Linked DNA regions of Homo sapiens: all the other regions are linked to region 2. Evidence: promoter capture Hi-C in 16 types of primary human blood cells and fetal thymus (Javierre and others, 2016). All regions are on one chromosome and are shown on one strand. Each heading gives the region's core, a stretch centred on a gene start or on the middle of the fragment in contact. The rest is flanking DNA. Distances are from core to core; before and after follow the strand shown.

Region 1 (3,494 bases), core at 238-2,737, 320 kb before region 2:
TGCATCTTAGAGTTGTTGCTAGGATTAAATGGGGTTTAAAGAAAGCCCTTAGCACATTGCTTGGCATATAGTAAATCAGTGCCTGTAACAGTGCCAGGCACATAGTGGGTGTTTAATATCTTTTGAATGAATGAGAGAGGAGTATAGCTTTGGAGAGCTACATGTAGAGTTAAACCTGGGCCTTAATTCTAGCTCTCCATTTAGTAGTAGTATGACCACGGGTAGATCACTTCGGTTTCCTTATCTGAAAAATGAGTTTTTAGGATTAGAGACTGTTTATAAAGTAGCTGGCATGTGTTAGGCCCTCAATAAATGGCAGTTATTGTAAAGACGTAAAACCTTAGATTATAATAGCTATTAAAAAATCCCTTGAAATTAAAGCTACATCTTAAAAAGTTGTTGCTTTTTTTGTATTACAGTTAAACTTTATCATTGTTGCATACTTCAACTTTGCAACAGAATTTGGAGTGTTCATTTTTATCAATATCAAATATCTTTGCATAGTCACAGTAAGATATTGTGCTAGTGGAGGAAACTTGATTAAGGTAAATAAAATGTGAAAACTTGGGCTATTGAGAGATGTTTCATGTTTTTTAAAAGAGGCTTGAAACATTTTTATGTGGTAAAAAATGCCAGGCATGGCTAAAGACAACAGTTTGACAAATAGAAGTATTAGAGGTACTGTACTTGACTTTTAAAAAGCTTCTTATTCTAGACAATTTTAAATATATACAAAATCAGGTAGCATACTGAGCATTCATATACCTATCAGCCAGTGTCAACAGTGATCAGTCTTGCTTCATCAATATACACTTGCCTCCTCCTTGCCAAATTATTTTGAAGCAAATCTCAGACACAATATCGGTAGTAAAATTTTCACTATTAATCCTTTTAACTTGAGCAGTAAGTGCAGGGGTTTTTTTTGGCTTTTTGGTTGTTAAGTGCTTTCTTTCTGTAAACAGAGGTCCAGTATTAGAATACTTTATTTCCTGTATATAGAAGACCATCAAAGTTACTTTTGCCACATTAAGCAATCCAGCTTTTAAAAATGATTCACATTATTTATATAAAAGTGACATTAAGTATATTGTCAAAAGTAAGGTTTTTTTTTTAAGTGGGTGGGCTACTTGTACTACTGTTGAGGAAATTGACCACTCATTTTTATTAGATTAGATTATTAGATTAACTACAGAAGTTTTATCCGCCTGACTGACAAATCAGGTAGTAGTGGTCCATTTTAGTGGGCCTCTAAAGCAAGTCAGCATGCTTCTGTTGTTGAGTTCCACGAAGGCAGAGACAGTGTTGTCTTTTTTGATCATTGCTGTCTTGCTAAAGCCTGGCACAATGCTTTGTGCTTAGTAGATACTTAACAGATATGTTTATGTTGGAACTACAGAAGCAGTCCATCTCAGCTCTGGTATTTTTAACAAAACGTCGTGCATGTTAAAAAACAAACAAAAAACTTATCAGTGGAAATAACAAGGATAAGAATTAAATTACCTGGAATATTTAATGGGTTGCTTTTCCCTTGTTATGTCTTGGATCAGCTATGTAAAAATTATACAGTAACATCATAGGTTCTAAGGAGTAGAATAGCTGTATAACAGTTTTTAAAATCAGAGCAAACAGTAAGTAGTTAAGCTATTAAAAAACTCCCAAAAATATGCCCTCTACTATTGAGTGTTGGTTTTTCTATTTTGAACCCAATCGTATTATTGGCTTCATAAGATATTCCTCTTATTATCAGTAAATGCGGAAATAATGTTGGGAATATTATGAGTGGGAGATTTGTTTGTTTTTGTTTGGGTATTCTTTAACCTGTATTAAAATAGAAAAGGGCTTTTGAAATATTTATCGGTAGAGAAAATTTTATTTTTAATTCATTATAGTAAGTCAGTGCAGGGATATATAAAGAAAAGTTAATAATTTCTCTATTCCCTGTTTCTCCTGTCCATGTATTTTTCACAATTTGGTGTGTATTCCATATTATATGAATATAGGGTTGAGTGTGTGTGTGTGTGTGTGTGTGTTTGAAAGTGGGGTATGCTGTTGCATAAAACTCTGCAACATGTGTTTTTTCACTTAACAAAATCATGGATGTATTTCCAGGTTAATGCATATCAATCAAAATGGTTTCTAAACTACATGGATATTATTTTGTATTATAGATGTACTTTATTCAGTCATTTCTTTGCTGATTATTTCCAGTTTTTTGCTGTAAAAATGGTGCATTAAATGCACTAATACCTGTAGCCTTATGGGCTGAAGCTTTTGTATATGTAGGATACTTTCTGGGCCAAAGGATGATTTGGATTATTGTTAAGATTTTTAAACATACTGATTACTTTCCAAAATGTTGGCACATTTCCACAAGCAGTATGTATGAAAGTGTATACCTTCACATCTGTACCTACATGTTTCAAAACTAGTCGTTTATATGTCTGTGTAATCTTAGAAAGGTGTCTGATTCAGTAAATAGAAACCATGCATTCTATTTTTGTCACAACAATAATTAGTGTTTAATATTTGTTCAGTAACCACTTAGATCTAAATGTACTGACATGAAAATGTGTCTATCATTTTGTTGAGTAAAAGAAATATGCAGAATTTTACAAGATGGCGTACCCCATTTTAAAATACATTTTTCACCTTAACAGTGGTGAAAATGGTGGTGAAAAATGGTATATTTTCACAGTGGTGAAATGGTATGTTTCCCCAGTGGTGAAAACTGGTATGTTTCATGTTCAGGAGATGAGGTTGAGAAATCCTTTATTAAAGCAATATTAAGCATATTAATATTTTTAAGGAGTCAGTTGAATACATGGCACAGTTGTTAGTGTTTACTATGCATTTAGTAAATATTTCTCTTGGCAGCAAGGGTAGTTTATAGCTAAATTTTACATGCACTAATATCCTTCCTCTTTCTCTGATTTTTATTTTATCAGTCTACCTGTACATACCTGAAATAAGCTAATAATACCTTAGAGAAAATCATGGTCTTTGGAATCAGGCCTGGGTTCAAGTTCTAGGTCTACCATTTACAAACTTTATAACATTGGCCAAATGAGTGAATTTCTCCAAACCTCAGTTTCTTTAATTTTTTGCATGGACATAATGATAATGACTCTGCAGAGTTGTGAGAATTAAGTAAGAATTATAAAAAGTAGTATAGATCATTACATGGTTTACTCTCAAGTGTTCTCAAGAAACTTTTTCTAAGTAAATGAATTATAGTATTATAAGTTAGTATTACTAGTATTACCAGTCATTTATATCTATAAATTCTGACTGCAGTGCATCCTCTGAATGTAATTCATGTATCTTATTCAGAATATTAAATTATAATTAAGCGAGTGAATACTGCAGAGCTACATGGTACAGCTGATAACCATGTGGAGGAGGCACGACGGTGGAGAGGGCAGGATGGTGTGGTGGTTAAGAGGGGATCTCTGTAGTTAAAACAGTCCTAGGTTCAGTACAGACTTGGCTGTGTG
Region 2 (3,600 bases), core at 309-2,808:
CTCAGCAGTGCTAGGTTCTGCTGAGGCGCCAGGATCCAGAATGGGGCAGTGAGGCAGGTGAGAGCAGGGGGATCAAGGGGCAGAAGGAAGTGAGGAAGGAGGTGAAAGGACTCCTGGATCTCTGCTGAGAAGGTGAGGTGGGGGGCTGCACAGATCATGCTCCAAGGCCAGGAGGCAGAGGGCCCAGAGTGAGCAACTGACAGTGAACAGGGAAGGCTCTGGGGGAAGGTGCTGTCCACTGGCCACACCCATGAAAGCACATATCCCTGTCTGGTGGGGGTGTCTGCAGAGTGGGATGGTAGCCACAGAGGTGGGCGCTGTGGACTGAGGGCAAGGATGGGGGTGGGGTTATTGGTAAGTGTTCTTCCTCCCTTCCCCCAAGAGTGAGTCTGGGTGGGGCCATGTCTGCCTTTCCCCCACAGGGCAGGGTCCCTATGATTGGAGCTCTGCCCACTGACTCCATCTGCCATTCCTATGACTCTGTGCATGTTGTCTTTCATTGTGTGCCCTTTATTTACATGACATGTTGTGCGTGTGGTATATATTTGCGATTGTACCATGTATTTCTGTGCACTGTGTCTCTACGCAATTTGTTGTTTGGGGCTATTTCGGCCATGTAGGTTTCCTCTTTTGTGAATTGCCTTTTGATATCCTTAACCCGTATTTTAAAAATTGCATTGTTAGCCCACTGAATTCCCTCCACCTGGCACACCCACTAACCTATTTCCACAACCTATCTGAATGCCACTTTTTCAGGAAAACTTGTGTCTCTTGCCCGTCTGTGTTGTGACTTTATGTGTTATGTCCGTCTACCTTACATGCATGTTCTGTTGTGTGTCTCTGTTGTGTACAGTGTGTTCCCCCTTGTGTATCTATGCCTATGGCTGGTGTGTACAGTACTTCTCTTTGTGGTGTGTTTGTGTCCTGTACATGCTGTGGTGTGTTCTGACCTGTGTCGGAACAACATGCGTTGTGCACTGTGTGTTGTGTATCTACATTATACTTGTGCTGTGTCTCTGTGCCGAACGCCTGTGCTGTTAGTGCAAGGTGTTGTGTGGCCTGTTTGGGCGTCCTGGGTCTGTGTCTGCGCCAAGGGTCCGCGCCGCCCTGCTGTGTGTCTGTGCCAGGGTCCGCCGGTGCCTGCGCGCAGAGCTGTGTTTCCTCAACAAGTGTGCGAGCGGTCGTGTGCGCCATGAGCGCTGCCTGGCGTCTCCGTGTGCGCCGCGGTGTGGCCGCTCCTCGGCGGGGGGCCCGGGTCCTGGCTAGTGGCCGCGGAGGATGCGCGCCCGCGGGGCGGGCGGGGGCGGGCGGGGGCTGGCGGCGCTGCGGAGCCCGGCGGCCGCGGGCTCCAATGGCGAGGCCGGCGCGGCCCCCGCTAATTACATAAGCGGGACGTCAATAATTCGCGGGAAAACGCGAAAAAGATGGCGCCCCGCGCCCGGGGGGCCCCTTCCTGAGCGCCCCGGCCCCTCCCTCCGCCGCCTCCCCCTCCTCCCCGCGGCGCCCCCGCCCCGCCCCGCCCCCGCCGAGACCCCGACCCCGGCCCCACGGGCGGACACTCGGCCGGGCAGCCGCGGGCCGAGCGCAGCCGCCTCCGCCACCGATGCGCCTGGTGGCCAGACTCCAAGTGGGACCGGCGGACACGCAGCCTCGCGGTGAGTTCTGCGCTGTTGGGCGGACTCCCCGCCACGCTCTCCCCTCCCGGCCCTCATCCCTCTCTTTTCGAAATCTCCCTGAACTTTGGCGGCCCGAACGCCTCCGGGGGGTGAGACTCCTGCGGAGCGGGGCTCTCGGGGGTGGGGACCGGGGGTGCAGGTTACCTGCGGGGCAGAGGGGCCCCACCCGGGTTCCCGAGCCCCGGGGGGCATGGGTGACAGGTCGTTCTTCCTCGCCCCCGATCTTTAATTTTCCTATCGGGGTGGGGGAAGGACAGACGGGCGTTTGGCATTTCGCTCACGTCCGAAGTCAGGCTGCGGCAGGGTTGGGATGGGGGAGGCTTGGCGTCCGAGCGACTGAGGAGAGGAGCGCTGAACCCGAAGGGGGTGCTTCTGCAAGCTTTTTCCCCCCTCCTGAACATCCTTTTTAAAAAGCCAACGGCCGCCCTGGGAGAGGCCCCGGCGCATGAATCATCCTCGCTTCCTGCCCCCGCCCGGCCCCGCGCTCCCGGTGCCGCGGATTTGAACTGGACGCAGACGGGAACCCGCAAACAGGCATTTCTTTGCAAATGGGTTTGAATCAGCCAATCACAGCCCGCGGGGGCCCGCTCCGGGAGGACGGAGGCGGGGGCTGGGGGGGCGCCACCCGGGGGCCCCCGCCCGGCCAGGGTGGAGGCGGGTGCGGCGACCCGGCCGGCTCCTAGAGGCGCAGCGGGAGAGGAAGTGTCAGTTTGTGAACCTGCAGCGGCCCCGGCCTGGCCCCTGGCCGGGCGGGCGGGGACCTCGCAGCGCCGGGCGAGCCAGGTGGCAGGGAGAGGACAGGGATTCAGACCGCATCCCCTGCCCGGGAGCCTGTGCGCTCTGCGCTGGAGAAAAAGGAGATGGGAGTGGGGGTGGAGAAGGTCGTGGCCACGCCACCATCTGGGGAGCCGAGACCCCTGCAGTGCCTGGCTCGCCCCAGGGCCCCGCACATACTTAGCTTCACACACTCCCTGGCACAATGCCGTAGACATCATCCTGCCCAGTCTCACAGGAGTACACACACGCACCACACAGAAACAGGCACTGGACTCTCTCCCTGTGAACAGATAGTCACAACACCAGGTGCCCAGCGCCATGGCCACAAGGAGGAGACCCGAGTAGGCCCGCGGGGAAAGAGAGAGGCTGTGTGTGGCTGTAGTGGAGAGCATGTGGAGGGACTTGGAGCCAGGTGAGCCCAGCAGAAAGGAGGGGGCGTTAGGGACGGCTTTGAGCACCAGTGAGGGCAGTGGGGAGCCCCAGAAAGTTTCTGGAAGGAAATTGGTGGCCCTGCGGAAGAGTCTGGTGGAGAGGCAGGAATGCAGGAACGGCCTGTTTAGCACTGGGTGCTGGTAGTACCGTTCCCCACCCTAGGTGCCTAGTGGAGGTAAGCACAAGGCCCAGGAAACTGTTATTGGGTGAATGAATGAATGAATGAATGGCCCAAGCAAAAGATGAGGCCTGAACTGAGACCAGGGCAGGAGGATGGAAGCTAGAGCTGGAAAGCCAGAAATCATGGCACTTAAAATGGGCCGGCTGTGGCAACTAATTGCTTGGAGGAGTTTGAGATGCATGAAGGCAGTACCACAGGCAGGGAGAGAGAAATCGATGGGTGAACTGCACGTTGAATAGGATGGTGAGAGACAGGCGTGGAGAGGCTGGCATGGGGATGGATGACTTCACTGCTTGGAGCAAATGTGTATCTGGGTGAAAGCATAAGTGGGTTTAAATGTCCCAGAATTGGTTTCCATTAAATCATCTCATAATTGAGAACAGAAGGGGGGATTACAAAAGACAGATGACCCAGTCTACACTAGCTACAAGCCACCCAGTTTTCCTTTCTAGGTGAATTTTCTCTGGACAGATCTCAGGTTAGGGATGGTTGCAGGGGTTGGGGGTAAAAACAAAACCCAACTGCTTGCCTGGA
Region 3 (3,845 bases), core at 932-3,431, 490 kb before region 2:
CCTTACAGAGGTGTTCCCCTGTCCTAACCTTTGCTGTTCTCCGAATATTCCACTCCTTTCACAGCTTCCTTCACCATGTGTAATGATTCAATTACTTGTTTGTGGCCCATCTCCCAACTAGAGTATAAGGTAAACTCCACGAGGCCCTTAGCACACTCCCTGCCACATGGAAGATGCTCCAAGAAGATTTTGTTTGAATAAATGACCCCACCGACTGAATGGACTCCCTTGTGGCCAAGGGGACTCCAGAAAACTTTAAAACTGAGTTCCCAGCCAATGACAGGACAGAAGGTCAGACTCGCCTCATTATAACTTCATCGTATTGGAGTTTAGACACAACAGCTGACCAGCATTAACGTTAAAACACAGATCATAAGACTGACAGAACAGACTGTTTGTGACAATAAGATACCAAATTATAAACAAATTATACCTAAGGTCATGCCAGGCAAAGGTTAAGGCACACATCCCTTCACTTAGAGAATAAACTGTGTTCTAACTGCCACAAGGTTGTTCTCTTTCTCTAGCAGCTTAACAAGCACTGGCCTCGAGATAAGCAATATTAAAACAATTTGCAGCTCCACCAGATGTGGCCTAATGGAACCCCTATTCCACCAGCCATCATTACAGCTTTAATTGGACAAGAGGCTGATTTCAGTAACTTTCTCCTCATAGGAAAACTACCGACCATGGACTGGCTCTGGCTAGTTTACACAGACTGCATACTTGCACACCTTCCTGTCCTGAAAAGACCTTTTGACGCATGGGGTCTAACTGTAATACATGTATTGTTATTATTTTTTAGAGTCCATCAGGCTGGAGTGCAGTGATCTGATCATACATCACTGCAGCCTCCAACTCTTGGGCTCAAGTGATCCTCCTGCCCCAGCCTCCTGACTAGTTGGGACCGCAAGCACACACCACCCCACCTGGCTATTTTTTTTTTACTTTTTGTAGAGATGGGGACGTCACCATGCAGGCCAGGCATTTAACATTTAATTGGTAACTCTTCACTCCAAAATGAACATGGGTTGTATGTTACATGCATGTTTGCTCAATGGGCATGCGTCAGGACCACCCTCATGAATATTCATAGCTCCTCCTGTCACCTGCTGAATATGCATGTCTACCCAAGCTGTTCAGCATAAAGCCGCTACTCCAACCCCTCCTCCAACGAAATGCCTGTCTCTGGTCCTGGCCATTCTCCAGCCTGCGGAATGGCCACCTTGCAGGCTGTAACCCCTTACAAGAAATAAAGTCTCCTCTCCTGTTTTTTTGTTTTTTGTTTTGTTTTTTTGAGACGGAGTCTCGCTCTGTCACCCAGGCCATCTCGGCTCACTGCAACCTCTGCCTCCCAAGTTCAAGCGATTCTCCTGCCTCAGCCTCCCAAGTAGCTGGGATTACAGGCGCGCGCCACACGCCCGGCTAATTTTTGTATTTTTAGCAGAGACGGGGTTTCACCATGTTGGCCAAGCTGGTCTCGAACTTCTAACCTCAGATGATCTACCCGCCTCGGCCTTCCAACGTGCTGGGATTACAGGCGTGAGCCACCGCGCCCGGCCTCCTCTCCTTTTCCAAATTTATACATTTTGATTTTCTTAACACACCTCACTCGAGTTCGTTCACTTCGGCTGCGGCGTGATCTGCCGGCCCTCTCAGCTCAGGCTGACCTCAGCGCCCTCACTTCGGCCACTTCTGTGTCCCTCAGTCTTCTCCCCTCAACTCGGACCTCGCGCCCTCATGACAGGGCGCCATTTTCTTCCCTCTAACTCCTCAGCCCAGAGGAGGCGCCTTGGTCCCGTACCTCTGCCCGGCAAGGCGACTTTTCTTCACTTGCACTTTTGCCTCGGGTCATCCTCTGCTGCTACCTCCCCACTATCCTCACCATCTGCTCCACGTCCCGTGGCTTCCGCCCTCCCTTCCGGTGCAGGGCCCCGGCCTCATACCCACAGCCTTGGGGGCTCTCGCCCCTCAGGCCACGCCCCTCAGGCCACGCCCCTCAGCCCACAGAACTAGCGGGAAGTGACTGCGAAGCAGTCGCGCCGTGGAGGGACAGGAGGGCGGGGATTGGGAGGTGGGTCCTCCTCGATCCTGGGCGTTGATTGGCCAACTCTCACGAGGGCGGGACCTCGATTGGGGGCGGGGCGGCAATCTGGGTCTTGTGCCTCTGGCTCCTCAGGGCATTCCCGGCGGCTCCGGGTTTGGCAACGAGGACGGGGGAGTGCGACTGCGTCTCGGGCAGCATGGCCGAGAAGCGGCACACACGGGACTCCGAAGCCCAGCGGCTCCCCGACTCCTTCAAGGGTGAGTCCCGCGTCCCCTGACCCTCCCCCGTGGACCGAGCCCCCGCCCGCAGCGTGCGCTCCGAGGTCTGACAGCCGGGCTCCTGGCCAGTCTCCGCTGCTTCGGGCTGGGCGAGATCTCAAAGCCGCGGCTCCTCCCTAGTAAACTGAGCATCACGAACCCTGTTTGGCAGACTGAGGTCACGATGGAGGGGTGGCGGGCTGCCAACGGCACGTTTCCCATCGCACGGGCCCTGGTTATCTCGCGGCCGCCAGATGCCAAGCCCCATGCCAGGGCTGCACTATCTCGTGTCACGCACGCGGACTAGGAAACGCAGAGGGAACTGGCAGCCAGCGAGGCGGGGACCGGGACCCCACATCTCACCCTTTGCCCACTCCCCTTCTTTCCCGACTCACTCTCTCGAAGGCCGCCTCCTCCACCCAGCCCTGGCCTGGCCCCAGGGTGAACCCCCTCCTCCCCCAATCCCACCTCCCGAAACTTAGACCGATTTGCAGAAGGAAGAAGTCTCTCTGGCTTTCTTCTTACCTCTCTTTCTAGCTCCACTTTCTGCCCCATTTTTCCCCCTCCGCTTTCCTCTGCGTTTTGGAGAACTCTCCTTCCCGGCTTTTGTTCCTCGCCAGGAACCCTGAGTTCTCCCACCCTCACCCCCACCCTCCCTTCCCAGTCTTCAAGGCAGGAGCTGTAAGTGGCTCAGTCTCGTTCCCCTGTGGAGGAACTGGTACTCTGGGGAGGGGGTTCCAATAAAGAGAGATGGTGGACCTCTCAGGAGTCCTGGTACCCACTCAGGAGCTCTTAGTGATCCAGAGGAATTACAGTGTTTCTAAAGATGGAATTTCAGGCAGGATGGCAGTGAAAGCAATTTAGAGGGCTGGGTGGTCCTTTCCAGGACCCCTCAAAGAACATGACATTGGAGTCATCTATTCTGATTATTTGTAAAGCCAGCTTTATCCACAGCATCTTAGCTATAAGTTCCATTTCCCTTGTCCAGGGATCCCTGTGTTCAGTTCCTTCCCAGGAGCATCAAAGGAATTACAGAAATCTTTATTCCTCACTTTTTGTCTACTAATAACGTTGCAGGTTATCTTCCCAAATGGAGAGTGTAACAGGGAGGAGTTGATGAGAATAATGGCAACCACAACAACAAAAATTGAAACTAAATAGGTCAGGCTCCGTATCACTTTTTTTTTTTTTTTTGAGACGGAGTTTCGCTTTTCTTGCCCAGGCTGGAGTGTGATCTCCGCTCACTGCAACCTCCGCCTCCCGAGTTCAAGTGATTCTCCTGCCTCATCCTCCCAAGTAGCTGGGATTACAGGCGTGCACCACCATGCCCAGCTGATTTTGTATTTTTTGTAGATACAGGGTTTCACCATGTTGGTCAGGCTGGTCTCAAACTCCTGACCTCAAGTGATCCACACGCCTCGGCCTCCCAAAGTGCTGGGATTACAGGCATGAGCCACCGCGACCCCCCCAGTGCCACGTATTTTATGTATATATTATTTTATTGAATCTTCACAACAGATGATGTGGTAGGTATTCTTATC

Evidence for each region. Contacts are between HindIII fragments. The CHiCAGO score rates a contact against its expected background, and 5 or more counts as called.
Region 1: a fragment that was not itself captured here is called in contact with the fragment with the promoter of PHF19 in region 2 in 1 of 17 cell types (total CD4 T cells); the score reaches 6.3 in total CD4 T cells.
Region 3: a contact is called between the fragment with the promoter of STOM here and the fragment with the promoter of PHF19 in region 2, in 4 of 17 cell types (total B cells, naive B cells, erythroblasts and 1 more). The highest score is 6.5, in total B cells.

What each region holds. Positions count from the first base shown.
Region 1 is chr9:121,196,557-121,200,050 of GRCh38, reverse strand. The region is part of intron 1 of RAB14 (RAB14, member RAS oncogene family); the gene reads left to right. Among named protein-coding and RNA genes, the nearest start is that of RAB14, 3.6 kb to the left of the region's middle. The HindIII fragment of the contact is 1,566 bases long and covers 705-2,270 here.
Region 2 is chr9:120,875,146-120,878,745 of GRCh38, reverse strand. It overlaps PHF19 (PHD finger protein 19), which reads left to right and starts at 1,558. Exons shown (of 15, transcript NM_015651.3): 1 at 1,558-1,655. RefSeq lists enhancers at 759-808, 1,069-1,118, 2,130-2,721 and silencers at 1,239-1,518, 1,759-1,808, 2,089-2,538. The HindIII fragment of the contact is 7,264 bases long and covers 1-2,057 here.
Region 3 is chr9:121,368,586-121,372,430 of GRCh38, reverse strand. STOM (stomatin) reads left to right here and starts at 2,181. Exons shown (of 7, transcript NM_004099.6): 1 at 2,181-2,304. The coding sequence starts at 2,244. It overlaps LOC102723324 (a long non-coding RNA gene), which reads right to left and starts at 2,538. Exons shown (of 7, transcript NR_187160.1): 1 at 2,465-2,538. RefSeq lists enhancers at 1,667-1,756, 1,216-2,176. The HindIII fragment of the contact is 8,041 bases long and covers 1-3,845 here.